2 separate regions of the Homo sapiens genome follow, and region 1 is linked to region 2. Evidence: promoter capture Hi-C in human tissues and cell types (Jung and others, 2019). All regions are on one chromosome and are shown on one strand. The core of a region is centred on a gene start or on the middle of the fragment in contact, and the rest is flanking DNA. Distances in the headings are between cores, read along the strand shown. Region 1 overlaps GLS (glutaminase). Region 2 holds the start of ASNSD1 (asparagine synthetase domain containing 1).

What was found. The method cuts DNA at HindIII sites, captures the fragments that hold promoters and counts their contacts. A contact is called where the count stands out against the background at its distance.
Region 1: a contact is called between a fragment that was not itself captured here and the fragment with the promoter of ASNSD1 in region 2, in 1 of the 25 tissues and cell types used here (lymphoblastoid cells).

The regions. Positions count from the first base shown.
Region 1 is chr2:190,887,913-190,895,133 of GRCh38, reverse strand. All of the region lies in intron 1 of GLS (glutaminase), which reads right to left. Among named protein-coding and RNA genes, the nearest start is that of GLS, 11 kb to the right of the region's middle. The HindIII fragment of the contact is 3,167 bases long and covers 1,953-5,119 here.
Region 2 is chr2:189,658,898-189,666,430 of GRCh38, reverse strand. ASNSD1 (asparagine synthetase domain containing 1) reads right to left here and starts at 4,972. Exons shown (of 6, transcript NM_019048.4): 1 at 4,821-4,972; 2 at 2,477-2,530; 3 at 980-1,055; 4 at 1-390. The coding sequence starts at 298. ASDURF (ASNSD1 upstream open reading frame) reads right to left here and starts at 4,972. Exons shown (of 4, transcript NM_001353493.2): 1 at 4,821-4,972; 2 at 2,477-2,530; 3 at 980-1,055; 4 at 30-390. The coding sequence starts at 4,910. The coding sequence ends at 320. RefSeq lists an enhancer at 4,725-4,914. The HindIII fragment of the contact is 8,906 bases long and covers 345-7,533 here.

The DNA.
Region 1 (7,221 bases), core at 2,287-4,786, 1.2 Mb before region 2:
CACAAAATTAATCCTTGTATGAACATTCTACTGGATTTTTAACTAAATCCATTGTTAAATAACCACTAAACTAGACTACAGCTGAGCTCATATACTCAAGACTACAGTCATAATAAATGTTGATTTACCAAAATCAAATCAGTACCACTATAAACCACACTGAAAAACAAGTAGAAAAAAAATCATTAACACATTTTTTAATCCCAGGTTTTGAAACCCTGATCATCAACTCTAGTTGTGCTAATGCCCAGCCATCCGTTATGGTGATGCCTTCCTATACACCCCAGTACAATCACCCAATACAAATTATAGAGTTCAGCAAACGTTCCGATAAGACTCAACACTCTGTTCAGTTGTTTTGGGGATTTTCTAAATATGATGACTATATTTACATATTATTCAAATAGTTAACCTGATTATAAAATCTGGGAGAGATAGCAATTAACTACTACACAGTAGTTAAGATCAAGTGCACAAGTTCTTGAATCCTGGCTGTAATACTATAGTTGTGTAACCTTGGGTAAATTAATTAACCTTTCTGTGATCCAGTTTCCTCATCTGAGAAAGGGAATAAAACAGTGCCTCCCTCATAGGGTTGTGGTGAGGATCAGTTGACTCAATACATTCAATATCTTTAGAACATGTCTGGCAGAGAGTAAGACTCCACTGACAGTAGTTGTAGTTATTATTTCTAAAGTGATCTAGGTTTACATATCCTAGTCAGCCCTTTGCATCCATAGATTCAACCAACACGGATAAAAAATATTCAGAAAAAAAATAAAAAAACGTACATTCAAAAGATAGTATAAGACTTATTTACATAGCATTTACATTTTATTAGGTATTATAAGTAATCTAGAGATGATTTAAAATATATGGGAGGATATATGTAGGTTATAGGCAAATATTATGCCATTTTACATAAGAGACTTGAGCTGTGGGGGACCTGGAACCAATCTCTTAACATATACAGAAGGACAAGGCAAGACTGTATACATCAAATTCTACAAATCATAAAGACTATTAAAAGAAAAACGTTACCAATAAGTATGCATTAAAAATCTTAATTAACTAAACTAGTGTAACACTAAAATGCTATGATTAACCAAACTTTTAAATACTGAATGTCACACAAATGTTTTTTAAAAACACATAGCTTTATCATTAAAATATTTAATGACATATCCTGATACATAATTATTCCCTGAAACTGTTTTTGCTCTTAGACAACTTCTAAAAATGCATTTGAAGCTGGGCGTGGCAGCTCACGCCTATAATCCCAGCACTTTGGGAGGCTGAGGCAGGAGGATCACTTGAGGTCAGGAGTTCGAGATCAGCCTGGCCAACACGGTGAAACCCCATCTCTACTAAAAATAGAAAAACTAGCCAGACGTTGTGGCAGGCGCCTGAATCCCGGCTACTTGGGAGGCTGAGGCAGGAGAATAGCTTGAACCCGGGAGGTGGAGGTTGCAGTGAGCCAAGATCGTGCCACCACACTCCAGAGTGGGTAACAGAGCGAGACTCTGTCTCCAAAAAAAATACATTTGGGATGTTTTAGTAATAATAACTACAATATATTGATCACTTACTTATATTCTACACACTGTGCTAAGTGTTTTACATGCATTCTAACTTAATCCTCCAAGGATTTTATGACAGAGGTACTACTGTTATCCAAAACATAGTATGATTTCTGGTACATACTTAGAAGCTCAACAAATTTGTTATTTGTTCAAAAAAATGACTACCTCTGTCCCCATTTCACAGATTAGGAAACAGAGGCTCAGAGGTTAAGAAGCTTTCCAAGGTTACACAATGGCAAAGATGGATTTTTCTGAATCCAAACTACTGCTACATTATACTGGCTCTCTAACTTACTAGCTTGTTATTACTTTTATAAGGTACAAACAAGTTTTCTAGGTCTTATCCTGACCTAATACCATTAAACACAGCTTAACAATACTCACCACCTAATATTCAAAGAAAAAACTGAACCAGCTGTCAAAAAATCAGTGGATAATAACATACCAATTATTTACAGCAAATGGTTGGTCAAATAAACTTCAGATAGTGGTAGTTTGTCACTTTAAAAAACTGCAGAATAAGCTTTCTATGTATTTATCACACAAGTAAATGGTATTTGCTTTGCCTAAAAGCTATGTAAATAACGTAAAATATACACTTTTTTAGCTTATGGCACATAGTGAAAAAAAATTAAAATGACCACGTTATTGCCAAAGCTAGCAAAAAAAGACAAATGTTTACTTGCTTTTAAACAAGAAATTAATTTTTATCTATAGGGGAAAGAATTTAAGCCAGCCCTAAAAAATAAGCTCACAAAATAAGCTGTCAAAACTGATAAAAAGAAATTACTACCTATTTCAGCATTTGAAACCTCAGATTTTGATCTGAGAATGAATTCGCTTCAACAGTCTGGCGAACAAACATACTCAAATATTCTCCTCAAACTTTCCACAAGGCAGAAACTACTCAAGATCATTCATGCCTTAACCCCCCTTTTCTCTCCCTAAATTAATTCTTTCTGGTAATTCTTCACAATAATGTATTTTTCATTAAAATTCAAAAGCTAAAAACTATAGCTTTTGGTAACTATATAGTAACTAGGAAATCCTTGAGAGAAGTATTTAAGTTTTAATGACAAATAGGATTATAGCAATCTTTCAAATCTTATCATCAACAATTATTAATAACCCAAATGAATCCTCCAGATTCCCCTGAAGAGAAAAACATAAAATGGTTATGATATTCAGCAATTCAAATAGGATATAACAGAAGATAATCTGAAGGAAAATCCTTATTTCTCACCTTTTTACTTCTTCTCCAACTTATACTGTCTCTCTCGTTTCCTTTCTAAATGCTGCCTTTAAGATCATCTTACCATCATATTGTTTCTTCTTTTACCCATTCCTTCCCCTACTTTAGCCTTTAACTGTCTTAAAAAATAATTTCTTAATGAAAAAGAAGAAAAATCCCATGCCATGTATGACATCATGTTAGACATCATTTACAGTCTAGAAGAAGTAGGAGACATGTACATAAAATGAGGAATTACAAGAATAGATCTATGACATCCAGACTTTGGAAAACTACTTCACTGTGGTCTAATAAGGTCAAGCTTTTTTTTAGATGAGGTGGAATCTGAGCTAAACCTGAAAGATGGGTAAGAGCTGGAAGCATGGCAACAGAAAAAGATTTCTGGCAAACAGACCAAAGGGATGAAAGTAAGCATTCACTTAGTGTTTATAAAGAACAAAAAACAGCTAGAGCACAGAATGTGTGAATTAAGGTGCCTGTTTCTACCTATAGGCTATTATATGAATACTTAATTTTTTAGTGTTGAGAATATATATATTCTGAATATATATATCTGAGGTAAATGAGGAGACTACCTTCCAAAATCTACATTAAGTTTAAATGCAGGGCCAACTTCTGCAACATGAAAAGAGGAACTGTCTTTGCTTACCCCACTGACCAAATTAGTTTCCCCATACCAAAGGGGGAATTCATACTCCTCAGTCTGGTATGCAGTTCTCTATAAATTAGTTTTACACTATTTATTCCTAACTTAATCCTTATAATTCCCCAATGTAATTGACTAGACTCAATGACCTGTAAATAAGTGCTATCTCATCTTTTTTTTTTTTAACCTATCATGCCTTCTGTGTAAAACCTTCCTCTCCCTAAATCTTAAGCTATCAATGATCATTTCAATTGTTTCACAGGACTTTGCCCCCACCAGATTCTCTATACTCTTTAGCATTCTCTGGTATCACTAAGTTTTGTCCTTTTCTTGTACCACTTATTATATGCCAAGCAATAGCAATAAAGATCCCTAAAGTAAGGTTGTGGTCTAGGAGAAATATGACTAAAGCCATGAGACAAATACTATGGTAGAAGTGTTTTTCAAAAAGTATTTTATTAGCAAGTACAGATGAAGTATTTAATTTTGCCTTAATCGGTAGGGGAAATCAAGAAAGTTTCTAATCTGTAATTAGGAGCAACAAGGCAAACTCATCTTCATCAGTTCAAAAATCTTATAAATAAAAAACTATCAAATGAAAGGAAGAAAATAAAAAAAAAATCCTTACTAAGAACTACAAAATGAACAGAGGAAAATAATTGAAACCAACTGTATGGTCTTATTTTGTTAAATAACATTTCATATTACCTAACCTCCCCAAACTATAAAGCTTCAAGGCTGGGGTCAAGTCTTTCTTATTTTTTTTTTCGCATAACTCTTAAAACACATAGTATAGTATGGTAAACCTATGAGACAATGAAAAACTGTCTTTTCAAGTGGGATTAAAAAAAATGAGGCCTAATAATAACACAATACAAAAGGATTTGCTAGTCTTTATGCCTTCATTTAAGAATAATGATCCTTCAGATGATAATTCAGGGTTGTTTTAAAATCAGTGTATCATTTTGAATTTATAGTGAGCTGACTGATAACAACCGTCTATCAACACCAGCAAACTGGCAGATTAATAAACCTGTTAGATAGAAAGTTGAATTGATGGTGGCTGACCATATAGTAAAATAGCATATGAGAATGAATGTTAAGTCTAACAAATTGACAAATTCTAGTTATCATCCAAGTGATTTTGCCCCAAGGCTAATCATTGGTTGAATTTAAAAATAAAAACTTACATCTTTTAAGGCTTTACTGCTAAAAAAGGACTCTCACTTTCTATCATATTAAAACCCTATGAGGTAAATTAAGGTGGGTTAATTGTCCCCAGTGTACAGATAAAAGAGAGTCCTAGAAGAGTGTGGTGGCATGCACCTACAGTCCCAGCTACTTGGGAGACTGAGGCAAGAGGACTGCTTGAGCCCAGGAGTTCAAGGCTGCAGTGAGCTATAATGGCACCAATGTACTCCAGCCTGGGTGACACAGCAAGATTCCATTTCTAAAAAAAGAAAGAAAATGTTAATTTAAATTTTAAATTTAAAAAAAATTTTGTTTTAAGAGTATCCAAGTCAAGCAGAATGTCCAATGTCACATAAATCTTAAGTGGCTGGACCAGAATTAGTCCTACAAAGCTCATCCTTTGTTCCCAGTTCCAGACTCTTCCTGCTCTGCCACCTCATGCTCTCAGTGGTTAGCACTCTATTTTAGGAATAATATCTGTAATTCTTAAACAATAATAAATTTCTAACCAAAATGCACATAAGAGAACTAAACTGGTCTGCCTTGATAAAACTGCATCCTGTCAAAGCAAAGATGAGATTATATTCAATTAGTGCTGCTGTTTTGACTGGACTTTATAGCACAAATTCATTTAATAGCACACCAAAGTAAAAAGCACAAAAGCCACTTTATGTGAGGAAATGGTCAGGCTGCCCCTGTCAGCTCATGGTAATTTGTCCATACGTTTGCACAACTTCAGAAGTTTGACCCAAAAGGCAGTCTGGCTGTCTCGGGTGGGAAGACTAGGATCTGGGGAGATCAAGTCTATAACATCCAACTCTGTTAGTTTTTCCAATAACTCATTTCTTCAGCCAAGTATCCTTTAATATATCAGTCTAGATGGAATAATACAGATACTATATGAATTCTGTCACTGCAATCACTCTGATACCACTATAGACAACTTGTTCAGAATAACTAACATATATAGGTAGAAGTTAATGAAAAACTTCAGCCACACATAAGGAAAAATGAAACAGCTATGAAAACGGAATGGGCTGCCTTCTAAGGGAGTGAACTCCCTTGTGAAGGCAGTATTCAGGTAGAGATGAATAACAACAACCTATAGGGAGTATGTAACAGAAGAGAAGAAAGCAGCAGCTGGGGAGAAGGGTTTGTAAGATCTCTTATAATCCTCAATCTAAAAAAATTAACTCTATAAATTGAATTAGTTTGCTGCTAATAGATGAAAAATAAAAAATCAAAACAAGTCCTAATACTGTCTGAACTTGTTTAGGTCATTTAATATCTGCGGGCAGCTTATATAATACGTAAAATGAGCTGGAATTAAATGTTCTTTAAAGTTACTTCCAAGCTTAATTCTCAGTTTTTGAGTTGCTAAAAATAGATGTCCTCCAAATCACTACACTAAAGTGAGATCATAAACTTTATTCACTCACAACTTACATACTTTTATTTTACACATTAGCATATTCATCTGGGTTCTAAAACTAACAGAAGTATTTAATGCCACTGAACTAGGGAACTTAAAAATGGTTAAAGTGGTAATTTTTATGTTATGTATATTTAACCACAATTTTTTGAAAAAGCTAAGCAGAACTGGATACAGAAGGTAAGAGTGAAGGAGGATAGCTAAAGTAGAGACATGAAGAACAGTCAACTGATACAAGATACAAAAATCCACAAAAGAACAAACCCACCCTTAAGAGTACTGGTTAAAGCAGAACCAATCAAGGCATGAGAGAACTTACCAATAAATATATTTTAGTGTAGGGCTACGCAAACTACAGCAGGGACCTCCTCTTTTTGTAAATAAAGTTTTATTGGAAGACTGCCACATCTATTTACCTATTGTTTGCAGCTATTTTGCTACCACCACTGAACTGAGAAGTTGTAGTAGTGACTAGAGAACCCCAAAAGCTGAAAATATTTACTATTTGGCCTTTCAGGGAAAGTGTGCCAGCACTTGTCTTACAGCATCACTGTATTACAGTGCAGTATAATAATGCATCCTTAAAATACACATAAGTTGAACAAGAAATGTTAAACTCTATTGATTACAATGTTTTAATATGGCAGAGAAATATGTAACATTTACTAGGGAGATATATCAAGCATAGTTTTAAATTTTTAAAGTTTGATGTTTAAGGGTACCAGTGAATATGATTAGACAATGCTGATAAACAGGAGCTGTGCAAATTCATACATAACCTATTTTCATACTTTTCTTTCAATGTAATGGTGCTTACTGTTCTTATACAACCAGAATCAGGATATTAGAAGAGTAGACAGTAGAGATTTACAAGTTCAAAACTTAACAGATGTGGTTCCTTTGATTTTCAAAACTATGGAATGTTTTTTACTGTTTTAGACGTTTCCCACTTATAATGGGGGGGAAATCTTAAAAGTAACAAAAGGAGGCAGGAAAAACAATGCTCGTTCTCATAAACCACAACTGCTAATGTCATTTTGGCTTATTTCCTTCTATTACTTTTTCTGAGCTTTTTAAATAGCTTGAGATCATACTGCATAGAAAATTCTGTATTCTA
Region 2 (7,533 bases), core at 3,723-6,222:
AAAGATAATTAAACAAAATTTGAGTGTCATTCTCTTCAGCTTCAACCTTTATTCCACTAAAAATTTCTCCATTCCATAGAAACACATTGCCTCTTTCATCTTCCACAGGCTGGGTAGTCAAAACACCCCTCAAGTGTAGGACGTGAGCAGAAAATAAACACTGGTAGTTAACATCAGACTTTAACAATTGTTTACTACTATTGGGTCCCCGCTGTTTAAGATTATATAGTAAGTCCTCTTTTAAATCTTGACTGAAATGCTCAGCAGAAAAGTTTACAGAACAACAAATGCCACACATTGTTATGTGAAATCAGGTTGACTATTTCTTGATTTTGGTCTTGTCTAAGTTTTCTATTTCTTGGTATTCTTTTTTCAGTTCATCCAATATATCTGTTGCAGGGAAGGAGAATAAATATTAAATAACATAAAAATTCTTGGACTTTTACCTAGCAATTCAGAGGGCAACACAAGCTGTTTACCAAAATCAAACCATATAAACACACACACTGTGCCAGTACCAATGATAATTAACAACAGGCTACTAATAAAGAATGTTTATCTTTTAGAAAAATAGCTTCTGTTTTGCCGAGTGCTGATTTTGGCCCAAGCACTTGGCTAAGCACTTTTAACATAGCATCTTATTTAGATCCCACAATACCTTGGAGGCTTAAAGTATTTCACCCAAAGTCACAAAGGTAGAAAGTGGTAATGGTTTGTCATACTTAGACCTGTTTAAAATTCTAAAGCACATGTTAATAACTATTGCTTTCTAAAACATTTATAATATATATATATATATATATATATATATATATATATATATATATATATACACATATATATATAACTGTTGACTCATCTTCGGAAGCCTAATTTGAAGAAAATCAAACTGCTGCATTAATCTTTAGATATATATTTTAACACTCAGATGAGTATAATTTAGGCACCCCCCAAAAACCCCAAAAAAGAAAAAACTTACTCTTGCTCTCAGACAGCATTTCTGTTCGGTCTGCAAGAAAGAATATATTGCTGTTCTGTTGTTGCCTATATACTTTCTGGAAAACATAATTTAGGCTAATATCAAATTTTGATCTAAAAAGTAGATATTAAAATCCTTAAACCCTATTATCACTAATTCTTGAAAATCTATTCAGTACAATACTTTAGCAAATACAGACAAGCAAAAAGACAAATAAAAGTCACCCACTGCCCAACTACCAGAAATTGCTACTACTGAAATGAAACTATTTTCTCTCCATTTTAACAAAAAAGGTTCTTACTGTACCTGCAGATTTATGCTTTTATCAATGAGCAATATATTGAGAATACTTTTTCTTATCAGTAAGTGTTCTTTTACAAGAACACCAAAATGCCAAAGCAAGCTATGGTGACCAAATTATACCTACTGCTATATAGATATAATATATTACAGTTTATTTGCTCAGCTTCAAATACTAGACATTTAAGGTGTTACCATCTCTTTGCTATTGTAAATCAAGGTTGTGATGATTATCTTTGTAACTAAATCTTTGTGCACTACCATGATTCTCTCCTAAGTATCAACTACTATAAATGGAACTGCTGGGTCAAAGTGTTATAGTTTTGAATTGTTGAGACTTTTTGCCAATTTGCCCTCTAGAGAAAGTCTGTATTAATTCTGCCTCAACTTCTTTTTTTTTTTTTTGAGAAGGAGTCCTGCTCTGTAGCCTAGGCTGGAGTGCAGTGGTGTGCTCAGCTCACTGCAACCTCTGCCTCCCAGGTTCAAGCGATTCTTGTGCCTCGGCCTCCTGAGTAGCTGGGATTACAGGCACACGCCTGGCTAATTTTTGTATGTGCCTCAACTTCTAATATTCCATAAGTGACAATATCAGAAATATCTAACCAGCCAGTTATTACATAATCTTTACAAAGCTTTTAAGAGCTCAAACTCATTTCTTCCTGAATGTTAAAATGCAATTTGACACTATAACCATACACAAAGCAGTAGCTTACTTGTTTGTAACATATTAATGGAAATGGCATTAAATAACCATGTTACACATTTAGGAAAATCTATGTAAAAATTTTTTGGAGGGAGGGGAAGCAATGTATCCTTTTTTGTTCAATAATTATCCACATTCATTTAAAAGAAAAGTTTCTTCTCATCTCAATATAAAGTTCGTTTATATCAAAAGAAAACATCAAATTCAGGTATAAAACATCATTAGTGATTATAGCTCCAAGATACCAAAATACAACTAGTATCATTTGTTGCAAAGGCAATGTGAATGGCATATGATAGAAAAAAGACATCTTCAGCTATGAGATCTATCCATTTAAAAAAAGAATCTAGACACTTGCAATTTTAAAAGATGCTGAAATACTATACATTTTATTAAAGTATGATTAAATCTTATATATACTTCTTATAACTTTAATATATAGTTAACATAAATAAACCTCCCACATATTATTCAGAATTCCTATAATAACTCACCCTATTCTTCTTAAGGTTAGAAAGTTCATCCACCACAATTTTTTGTTCTTTAATCTATTGAAATAAAGAAAAACTCCTTAAGTCAGATGTTTTCAAAGTATGCTCAATGAAAATCCCTTAAGGGGTTGTTTTAAAATTAGAGATGGGATAAGGGGCTATGATGTACTGGTTTTCCAAACGGGCAGTTTGTGAATATACAGATCATTTTCAACAGGAGTCTCTGTGTGGGGGTACAGTTCAGGAAAAGCTGGAGGAGAAAAAACAGTGATTAGACTTGCAAAATGTTAGGTAACCCATTAAGACCAGACAGGGATTTTCGTGTTCATAACCAGCAATCATGCCAAGGACTACAGTTACTAAACAAGGTTTATACCTTTTGTTAAAAATATATGATATACACCAGGCCGGGTGCGGTGGCTCATGCCTGTAATCCCAGCACTTCGGGAGGCCAAGGCGGGCGGATCACCTGAAGTCGGGAGTTCGAGACCAGCCTGACCAACATGCAGACACCCCATCTCTACTAAAAATACAAAATTAGCCAAGCGTAGTGGCACATGCCTGTAATCCCAGCTATTCGGGAGGCTGAGGCAGGAGAACTGCTTGAACCCGGGAGGCGGAGGCTGCAGTGAGCCAAGATTGCACCACTGCACTCTAGCCTGGGCAACAAGAGTGAAACTCCGTCTCAAAAAAATAAATAAATAAATAATTTAAAAAATATATATATATGATATACACCAAAAGGAATTAAGTTGTGATTTAGATTGAAAATTAAGTTGTGATTTAGATTTAAAAAAAAGCAAATTGAATGAGGGGTGGGTTACTTTTTTCAATATTTTCATGATTTTATGTACTAAGTGCTGCAGTCAAACATTCAAATCAAGCAATGCCCTATTTGGGGACAGTAAGACCTATCATGTTCCATCTTGGTATTTTTCCCTCTTTTTATCTCAATGACTAGCATAGAGCTGGCACTGTTGAACTGGGCTTTTTTTTTTTTTTTTTTTTTGAAACAGGGTCTTGCTCTGTTACCCAGGCTGGAGTGCAGTGGTGCGATCACGGCTCACTGCAGCTTTGATCTTCCCGGGCTCAGGCGATTCTCACACCTTAGCCTCCGAGTAGCTGGGACTACAGGCCTGGGCCACCATGCTGGCCTGGGCTTCATTTATTTGTAGGGGAGGGCTCAACTAAGTGAAAACTAAGTTTCTTTTTAACTCTATTTATTTTGTGAACATGACTGATTACATAGTATCACAAGAGCCTCTAAAAGCAGCTTTTATCATATTTGTGCTACCTCACACACACCTCAGGGATCTGTAACCACCAGTATGCGTAAGTGGCTTGCTATGGTGGTAATCAGAATGGGCTGTGTGTCTTTTGAAAATTCACCCCCAATCCCCATGAATGTGCACCTTTCTGTCTCCCCCGTTGGCAGAGCTGTAGTAATGAGGTTGAATTCCAAGGCCAAATTTGTAAACATTCTTTGAGACTTAACATTTATACAGGGCTTTCCCATTTTAGGAATGACAGGTGTACATTTCACTTTACTTCAAAGAAGGTAACTGATACAGAAAGATTAAAGAGACTTGCCCAAGATGTCATTGTAAGTTTGGGACAGAACCAAAGTAGAATCTAGGACATGTAATACCTGAAGGGCTATAACCCTCGCCACCCCCATTTATCTTTAAAGGTTGTTTGTTTATGGCAGTTAAGGCTTATATTATATTGGCTTCCTCTCTCCCCCAGTTTGGTATGAGTGACAACCCAATGCGTGTTTTAGGACCATTGCTCTGGTTAACGGAGAAGCAGCAGCTAACAGGTGGATGAGGAGAGACCGCTTAGGAAGGCCTTGCCGGGGGCAGGGGTCCCGATAGCAGATGACGGTGGCTTATTTGGGGTGGTAAGAGTGTTCACGGTGATAAAGGGACATATTTGAAATGAGCTTCAAAGGTAGAACTGATAGGCTTCCATGATGGGGGTCAAGGATGGACCCCGGGTTGCTGGCATGGTTAACTGGATGGAGAATATCTTTGATGGAACAGATTTGGGGTGGGCGGTATTTCCAAAAGTTTAAAAAGACTAGGGAGGAAAACACCCAACCAAAACTCCGCCCCACTGTCACCTGGGTCCAGTCTCGGGACAAATTTCAAGATCTCCCTTTTCGCAACTGTTTTCAGAAAATAAAAGGACTAACTGTGGCTGTCAAGTGCTATGAATAAAAAGAGCAAAGTAGCAGGGCAAAGCCGAGGCCCAGGCAGGCCCCACGCTGCCCGCTGCGGACCACCTTCAGGGTCCAGTGGCGCCCGGTCCCGAGTCCAGGAGCCTTTTCGTCGCGTCTCACACTCACCTTGCTGCTTAGATCCTCCTTGTGTGGGGTCGAATTGTCGGTGGGGATCAGCACAGAGCTGTCCTCTGGTCGCGTCCCTCGGCTGGGCATTTCCACCGAGCGCAAGACACGCGGGATGGCTCAGCCCTGAAGGAGCCTACGGCATTAGCCACAGCGCATGCGCGCTTCCAGCCGCGCTCACCCTTTCTTTTCCCGCGAGTCTTACCAATAGCGTCTGCGCGCTCACTTGAACGCATGCGCAGGCCGGGTCTGGCCTGGGGAGGAGTTTCGCGCCTGCGCATGGCTGCTTAGGGAGCGAGTAAACAGTCTGGTTGCAAAATCTGAGGTTCCTGTACTGGCCTCTTGTGGTTGAGATGCAGAAACGCTCAGGTGGTTTCTTCATGACCTCTTATCTAGTATACTACGAGTTCTGTGCGCCCTCCAGTGGTAAATATGAAGAATAGTCGTGCAATAGAAACAGCGCTTAATATGATATTTATTATCTAGGGAAAGATGAAGCTAAGGAACAGATTTAAGAGATACCGTGTTGGCAAAAGAACTGTACAGACTTGGTAAAGTTTTGGTTAACTCGTGGTTAGGGTTGCCGGATAAAATACAGTATGAACTTCAGATGAATTAATAGTTTTTTAGTGCATCTATGTCCCGTGCAATATTTGCAATATCTCATTTCTGTGGAAAAAATGACTAAAACTTGGAAATAGGCAAAAGAGATTTATTTACTGGATGCTCTTTCAGTGCTGCTCTGGACTTGACTTTATTATATTGACTGGGCTGTTTTACAATTCTGTAGGGGCAAAGGTTAACTTTGGTAGAGATTTTGGTTTGGTAGAGATGCAAATAATTTTTTGTTGTACCAGATACCAACACAGGTTATGATTTATTGTTCTGCAACACATTAGTCAGTTTTGTATCTAACCCTGCATTCTGTCCTAACATTTCTTTATTAACATATGCCTAGCTTCTCTAATATTCTGTATTGGTTTTAAAGTCATCGGTTCCCTCACTAACCAATGAGTTGAATAAAAGTTTGACATGTATATATTTTATGTTCACATTAGAGACATGATTTTAGGTTTTTGATAATTATACTATATTATTGGAAATCTTAAGTTTCCACAGAGATGCCCAACTGGATTTATGTGATGAATCAAACTATCTGGCGAAAGAAATGTATACATCATGGGTTGTTTAAGGCCAGGCATGTTTTTTATTTGCTCTTACAGAAAACCCAAGTGGTTATATATTTTTCCTTTATAATTGATTTTTAAAGATTGTGTTTTCATTTCTGATTTGTACATTCCTGATAAGTTATTCAGGTATAACTTATACATTACTGATACATTGATAGCAGCAATGATTGGGAGTTTGGTTTTGTGGTCTAACCATTTGGTGGTATCTGTTGGATGATGGACGTCTAGTCTCATTGGTAGAGAGGTAGATAGGTGCAGTGGCTCAAACCTGTAATCGCAACCACTCGGGGCTGAGGTGGGAGGATTACTTGAGGCCAGGGGTTCAAATAAATAAATAAGAGAGGTGACAGAGAAGCGAGTTTGTAAGTCTTTTTGTTTATTGTTTGTGAGCTCAAATTAATTAATTACTTTTGTGTCCACTGAGAGGGAAGGAGGACAGCTATTTGAGATGTGGGCTAGTAAGGTTTTGTTTGTTTGTTTTAACATAAAGGCCGCTCAAGCAGAAGAACTGGTGAATTTTTGTGGTTTTGTGTTTACTTTTGACCTGAGATTGAAGTTGTAAGACAGAAGCAATAACCTCTTTATGTGTCTGTGTGTCTGTAACTTAGAACAGGCTTTATGTCTCCCTTTGTAAATATGAAATATTTCCCTACTTCTGGAGTGTATTAATAAATCCCACTATAGTATCTCTAATTAAAGGGCCTCTGTTCTGACTAGTTTATAGAGAAAAATAAGCACTGGTATAATCCCAATATTTTTAAAAGCCCAGAATTTCCAATACTTTAAATGTGCCAGATTTTTAAGGAAAAAAGTTCTTACAAAACTGCTAGCTTAGAAACATTTTAAGAATCCAAGTTTAGGAAAAAGAGAGCTCCAAAGTGAAGTATCACTTCACTTTGTTGTTGTTGTTATTTTGAGACACAGTCTTTCTCTGTTGCCCTGGCTGGAGTGCAGTGGTGCGATCTCTGCTCACTGCAACCTCTGCCTTCTGGATTCAAGCTATTCTCCTGCCTCAGCTTCCCAAGTACCTGGGATTACAAGTGTGTGCCACCATGCCCGGCTGATTTTTGTATTTTTAGTAGAGATGGGGTTTCAGTATGTTGGCCAGGCTGGTCTCAAAGTCCTGGCTTCCAGCTATCTGCCCGCCTCAGCCTTCCAAAATGCTGGGGTTATAGGTGTGCGCTGCCAGGACTGGCTTCCACTTTGTTTAGAGGTAATAGTGAGGCTTATCTGTAAAGCTGATGAGACTGAGCATCCTAGCCTATTGGTCTTCTTTGTACCCCACCTTCTATTATAGTGTCTGGCAGAGTGGGAGCTCTGGTTAAAGTTTGAATTGGTTCTGACTCACAATCATGTCCACATCGAGTAGCCGGAAACACCCAACACCGCTGATTGGTCTACAGCTGTTCACCCCGTTTTGGGAAGTGGGCTGTTGCTTACGGCTCTGCCAGGTTCTGATGTTTTTGTTTATTCACAAGGGCTGCCCAAGACAACATAGTACTAAACAAAATAGTACTAAACAA